Linked DNA regions of Homo sapiens: region 2 is linked to region 1. The links are contacts of gene promoters, found by promoter capture Hi-C in human tissues and cell types (Jung and others, 2019). All regions are on one chromosome and are shown on one strand. The core of a region is centred on a gene start or on the middle of the fragment in contact, and the rest is flanking DNA. Distances in the headings are between cores, read along the strand shown. Region 1 overlaps LRRC36 (leucine rich repeat containing 36). Region 2 holds the start of CBFB (core-binding factor subunit beta).

Region 1 (3,222 bases), core at 716-3,215:
GCACTCCAGCTTGGGTGGCAGAGCAAGTCTCCATCTAAAAAATAAAATAAAATAAGAATCCGTATATGGTCCATATATTGCAATTGGTTGATGTATGTCTTAAGTCTTATTTGATCTGTAGGCTCCCCATTTTTTTTCCCTCGCATTTTCAATTGTTTTTGAAGAAACTGGCTTTGAAAGAGTTTACTATAACCTGAACTTTGCTCATTGCATTCCTAAGATGTTAAACATTTTCCCGTGTTCCCTGTACTTCCTATGAATTGGTAGTTAGATGAGGCTTAATCAGATTCAGGTTGGATTTTTTTTTTTTCACAAGACGATTTCATAGGTAATGGTGTATGTTTATGTTAGGAAGTATATGGTGCCTAGTGTTCTTTCTTTTCGTGATATCAGCCACTGAATATGATTACCTAAGTTAATTCATTAGGGATTGCAAAATGGTAATTGTCTATTTCTTTCATTTTTCTTCATTAACTGTAATACTTCTATAAAGAGAAATTTCCTCACATCAACTGTTTGCTTATCCTGAGGTACAGTTTGTATAGGAAAGGCAGCATAAAAGCTTGATTTGTTTTCACCTTATATGCCAGCTTTCAGAATGATGAGTTATTTTCTTAGCATTCTCCAAAGGTGACCAGTGAGGACTGTTTTGCTTTCTCAGTATCATTATAAACTCATCGATTTAAATATATGTCTTAGGGCTGGGCATGGTCGTTCACGCCTGTAATCCCAGCATTTTGGGAGGCCAAGGAGGATGGATCACCTGAGGTCAGGAGTTCAAGACCAGTCTGTCCAACATGGTGAAACCTCATCTGTACTAAAAATACAAAAAAAATTAGCCCGGCATGGTGGCAGGTGCCTATAATCCCAGCTACTCAGGAGGCTGAGGCAGGAGAATCACTTGAGCCTGGGAAGCAGAGGTTGCAGTGAACTGAGATCGCACCACTGCACTTCAGCCTGGACGAAAGACTGAGACTCAGTCTAAATAAATAAATAAATAAATAAATGTCTTAGTCCCTTTTCTCTTGTCATAACAGAATACCATAGACTAGGTAATTTATAAAGAACAGAAGTTGATTTGGCTCATGGTTCTGGAGGCTGAGAAGTCCAAGAGCATGGTGCCAACATCTGGTGAGGGTCATTCCATGGTGGAAGGGCAGAAGGTGCATGTGTGAGATGTGAGAGAGAAAGAGAGAGAGAGAGAGAGAGAGAGAGAGAGAGAGAGAGAGAGAGAAGACTGAACTAATTCCTTTATTAGGATAGCTAACTCCCGTGATAACTAACTCCATGATAACAGCATGAAGCCACCGTTGACCTAATCACCTCTTAGAGGCCCCACCTCGCAGTGCTGTTACATTGGCAATTACGTTTCAACATGAAAGCTGGGCATGGCGGCTTACACACTTTGGAAGGCCAGGGAGGAGGATGAGGCCAGGTATTTGAGACCAGCCTGGGCAACACAGCAAGATCCTGTCTCTACAAAAAATTTAAAAATTAACTGGGTGTTGGTGGTGTGTACCTGTAGTCCCAGCTACTCAGGAGGCTGAAGTGGAAGGATCCTCTGACCCCAGGAGTTTTAGGCTGCAGTGCACTATGATAGTGCTACTGCCCTCCAGCCTAGTTGACAGAGCAAGGCCCTATCTCTGAATAAATTAATACATTTCATCATGAGTTTTGGAGGGGACGTTCAAACCATAGCAATATATTTCAATGTAAGTTTTAATCCATTATAGTTCTTATCATAATTGATGTTCAGTTTATCCTAACTTTAGTTAATAGGTGATCTTTCAAGTTGACTCCTGAGGTCTTTTTAAAAAAGTTTTATGGCCAGGTGTAGTGGCTCACGCCTGTAATCCCAGCACTTTGGGAAGCCGAGGGGGGTGGATCACCTGAGGTTGGGAGTTTGAGACCAGCCTGGCCAGCATGTTGAAACCCCATCTCTACTAAAAATATAAAAATTAGCTGGGCGGGGTGGCACATGCCTGTAATCCCAGCTACTTGGGAGGCTGAGGCAGGAGAATCGCTTGAACCCTGAAGGCGGAGGTTGCAGTAAGCCAAGATCACACCATTGCACTCCAGCCTGGGCAAAGAGAGCGAAACTCCATCTCAAAAAAAAAAAGAAAAAGAAAAAGTTTTATTTATTAGAAACATTCATTGTCATTATAAATAAGCTTTGTTAAAGGTTGTTAATTCAATTTCCAAATGAGCTGTAAATGGTTTTCATTAGAGAGACTACTTGATTTGTTATTTTCAAATAGCAAATTTTTGCCCACTGGGGTTATGTAACCCATATATTAAAATTGGAAGATCATTCTTTTATTCTTGGCATCTATGCTGTGCAGTGTTTGATTTGTTCTCTGATTTGTCTTCACTCTTTATAAACACTGAAACGGCCAGGCGCGGTGGCTTACGCCTGTAATCCCAGCACTTTGGGAGGCTGAGGAGGGCGAATCACGAGGTCAGGAGATCGAGACAACCCTGGCTAACATGATGAAACCCTGTCTCTACTAAAAATACAAAAAAATTAGCTGGGCATGGTGGTGGGCGCCTGTAGTCCTAGCTACTTGGGAGGCTGAGACAGGAGAATGGCGTGAACCTGGGAGGCAGAGCTTGCAGTGTGCCAAGATGGTGCCATTGCACTCCAGCCTGGGTGACAGAGCGAGACTCCGTCTCAAAAAAAAATAATAAATAAATAAATAAACACTGAAACGAAATGCATAACCTCTTAAGACATGCATTCATGTGAATCATTAAAGAATGTTTGTCTTTGTGGCAGTTTATCATTTTAATAATTCACATTCCTTCTTAAAATGTTAAAATGTCTGCTCTTCAAAATAGACTGCAGTGAAAGGCATGAGAAATGCTGTGGGTCATTGATGGAAACCATAATTGTCCTTAGCTTTTGTCCCATGTTAACAGACTCTCAGGGTGTTAGATCATAACATACCACAGAATTACCAATACACTGCCCTCAAAGTCAGGAAAATTTTATTTATTTATTTATTTTATTTATTTATTTTTTTTTAAAAAAAACATGGTCTTATTCTGTTGCCCAAGCTGGAGTGCAGTGGCATGATCATGGCTCACTGCAGTCCCGACCTCCTGGGCTCAAGCAATCCTCCTGACTCTGCCTACTGAGTAGCTGGGACTACAGGTGTGCACCACCATGCCCAGCTAATTTTTTCTTTTTTTGTAGAGATGGGTGCATTTTAAAAAGATATA
Region 2 (3,113 bases), core at 37-2,536, 300 kb before region 1:
CTCAGGTGATCAGCCTGCCTCGGCCTCCCAAAGTGCTGGGATTAGGCCAGGCGCAGTGGCTCATGCCTGTAATCCCAGTACTTTGGGAGGCCGAGGCGGGCAGATCACCTGAGGTCAGGAGTTCGAGACCAGCCTGACCAACATGGCGAAACCCCGTCTCTACTAAAAATACAAAAAAATTAGCTGGGCGTGGTGGTGGGTGCCTGTAATTCCAAATACTCGGGAGACAGAGGCAGAAGAATCACTTGAACCCAGGAGGCGGAGGTTGCAGTGAGCCGAGATCGCGCCATTGCACTCCAGCCTGGGCGACAGAGCGAGGCTCTGTTTAAAAAAAAAAAAAAAAAAAAAAAAAAAAGAGGGCTGGGATTACGGGTATGAGCTACAGTGCCCGGCCACAGGACTAACTTTGAATCAAACTCTGCCATAAATCCCATGTCAGACTTTCTCCAGTTTGGGCTAAACAACTTCCCTAGAATTTATGGATCTTATTTTTTGCAGCTGATTGCACATTGAGTAAGTATATGGACTGGCAATCGGTTACATTCTTAACTCAGCTTGTTCTTCTTTAGAAACTTAAATTTATTGGGCTCCCACTGTGTGCTAGACCCACATAAAGGTTCTCACGCTAACACTGCAAACCTAGGAGTGTCTGCATTTTGGAAATAAGGAAACTGAGGTTTAGTGGTCCAATTCTTATCTAAGGCCCCAGCCAGCAGGTAGTGTAGCTGAGTGGGATCCCATCTAAGACCCATCTGACTCCAAAAGCCACGACCTTTCCACCATGACTCGGTTGGATTCTTTGGTCCGTTTCCACCTCAGTCTTCAACGTGCAGAGCCTACACCCCTGCCGGTCGGTTTAGGGACGAAAAGTCCCCAAGGACTTAGGTTTCCTCGCGTTCAAGTGACAATCTGGGGTTACTCCGCGCACCTGGGGAACCCAGAAGTTCCAGATGACCGAGGAAGGGCGGTAGAAAAGGCCTGCGCTGGCTACTCCCGTCTGCTAAAGGCCAGGCGGATCCCCCAACGACAGCTCCACGCCGAGTGGCCGCGGGCGAGCAGGGGGAAAAGGGCCCTGATGCGGAAGGAGCCCCGGGGCGCCACAGCCAGGCCGCTCCGCCAGCGGGCGGGTGGCGCATGCGCGGCGTGGGCCGCGGAGTTGTGAATGGTGCGTCTTGTTTGCCGGAGTTGGAGGCGGGCGGGCGCGCGAGGAGGAGGGGTGGGGCCGGCGGGGGCGGGGTGGGCGGTGAGAGGAAGTGGCGGCGGCGGCGGCGGCGGCGGCCGGGGGCGGTGAGCGCTGGGGCTGCGCGGGCGGCAGGCAACGGCTGAGGCGGCGGCGGCGGCGGCGGCGGCGTGGGTTGGGCTCGAGCGGGCGGCGGCGCCTCAGACTCCCCGGAACGGGAGCCCACGCGGGCGGGCGCCTGAAACAAAGGGAAGCGGGCGTCCGGGCGCCGCGGGTGGGCGGTCAGTCGGTCAGCGCGGAGCCAGCCAGCGGGTGCCCGCGCAAGCCCCGAGCGCGGCCGGCCGGCGCGGCCTCAGGGCGGGAAGATGCCGCGCGTCGTGCCCGACCAGAGAAGCAAGTTCGAGAACGAGGAGTTTTTTAGGAAGCTGAGCCGCGAGTGTGAGGTGAGGCAGGCGGGCGGGCGGCTAGGAGGCCGCAGCGCGCCCCGAGTGGGCCCGGGCGGAGAAAAGTTTGGGCGGCACGGTCCCCGGGAGTCCCGGTCGGTGCGCCCGCGGAGGGGCAATCTCGCCGGGGCGGCCATCGCCCGCAGCCTCTGCTTGCCCTTATCGGCGCTGCGCTGGGAGGGCGGGCGCGCGGGCGGCGCCGCGGATTTGGCTCCTGATTTCGGGCCGTCTTGCCTTGCAGATTAAGTACACGGGCTTCAGGGACCGGCCCCACGAGGAACGCCAGGCACGCTTCCAGAACGCCTGCCGCGACGGCCGCTCGGAAATCGTAAGTCGGCTGGCCCGGGGCGCGCGCGGGTCACTTGTTGCGCGGGGCCGCGGCGGCCCAGGCCGGTTCCGGACGGCGGCGCGGCTGCTGCGGCTCCCGGAACTGAGTGGGCGCCGTCTCACTTCCTACTCGGGATTCAAAATGCGAAACCAGATGCCGCGGGCCGGTACTCGCGGGGAGACGCTTTTCCTGGGGCTCGCCGCGGTGGCGCGTGTCGGCCAACGGAGCACCGCGAGTGGAGCTCGAACCCGAGCCAGACTAAACAAGCGAAGGGCATTGTTTAGGCGGCGACACCGAAGAAGGGTTCAGGGTATTTGTAGCAAGCAAACCCCCATTCGGAAAAAGAAGTGGAGCTTCATTCAAGGTCGGCGATAGTTTGTTTCTTAGAAGGTAGATCTGTCGGTAATTCTCTGTGTCAAGCGGTCTCACTACCAGATCGCCGAGTAGAAATCTTTCCTCCAGTTATTTATTCTAATAGAGAGGGGAGGGGGGGGAAAAGGCCCTAAAAATGTCATTTTCTTAGAATGTTAAGCTTCAGGAGAATCAGAAAGAAACCATTATCCCCATGTCCTGAGTAGGGCTGCTGTTCCTAAAAACTGCACAGATGGGCAAAACCCACGGTTGATCTCGAGGTCCTTGTTTTAGGAGGCAGATTTAGTGCGTCTTCACCAGACCTTGGGTTGAAAAAAAAAATCCAAGGGTCCTAGTTCCTCTCATCTTTTTGGTTTGCCTTGTTGGAGGTGCTGATGAGGAGGGAGTGGTAGGAAGAAACCAAGAAAAGAGGTTGATTATTACTATTTTTTTGAGGTAGAGTCTTGCTCTGTTGCCCAGGCTGGAGTACAGTGGCTCGATCTCGGGTCACTGCAACCTTCGCCTCCTGGGTTCAAGCGATTTTCCTGCCTCAGCCTCCTGAGTAGCTAGGATTACAGGTGCCTGCCACCACGCCCGGCTAATTTTTGCATTTTTAGTAGAGACGGGGTTTCACCTTGTTGGCCAAGCTGGCCTCCTGACCTCAAGTGATCCGCCCTCCTCGACCTCCCAGAGTGCTGGGATTACAGGCGTGAGCCACTGCGTCTGGCCTGATTATTTTTTAAAAAGTTGAAGCACTGTCTAATGGAATGCTGTTACTCTCTGCTCGGTGACTTGGACTCACTGCATTGTT

The links. Contacts are between HindIII fragments. The study calls those that stand out against the background at their distance.
Region 2: the fragment with the promoter of CBFB here is called in contact with a fragment that was not itself captured in region 1 in 4 of the 25 tissues and cell types used here (dorsolateral prefrontal cortex, liver, lymphoblastoid cells and 1 more).

What each region holds. Positions count from the first base shown.
Region 1 is chr16:67,329,881-67,333,102 of GRCh38, forward strand. All of the region lies in intron 1 of LRRC36 (leucine rich repeat containing 36), which reads left to right. Among named protein-coding and RNA genes, the nearest start is that of LRRC36, 4.7 kb to the left of the region's middle. The HindIII fragment of the contact is 7,189 bases long and covers 1-3,222 here.
Region 2 is chr16:67,027,863-67,030,975 of GRCh38, forward strand. It overlaps CBFB (core-binding factor subunit beta), which reads left to right and starts at 1,287. Exons shown (of 6, transcript NM_022845.3): 1 at 1,287-1,623; 2 at 1,865-1,951. The coding sequence starts at 1,546. RefSeq lists an enhancer at 550-689 and silencers at 1,250-1,439, 1,530-1,769, 2,020-2,069. The HindIII fragment of the contact is 10,821 bases long and covers 1-2,893 here.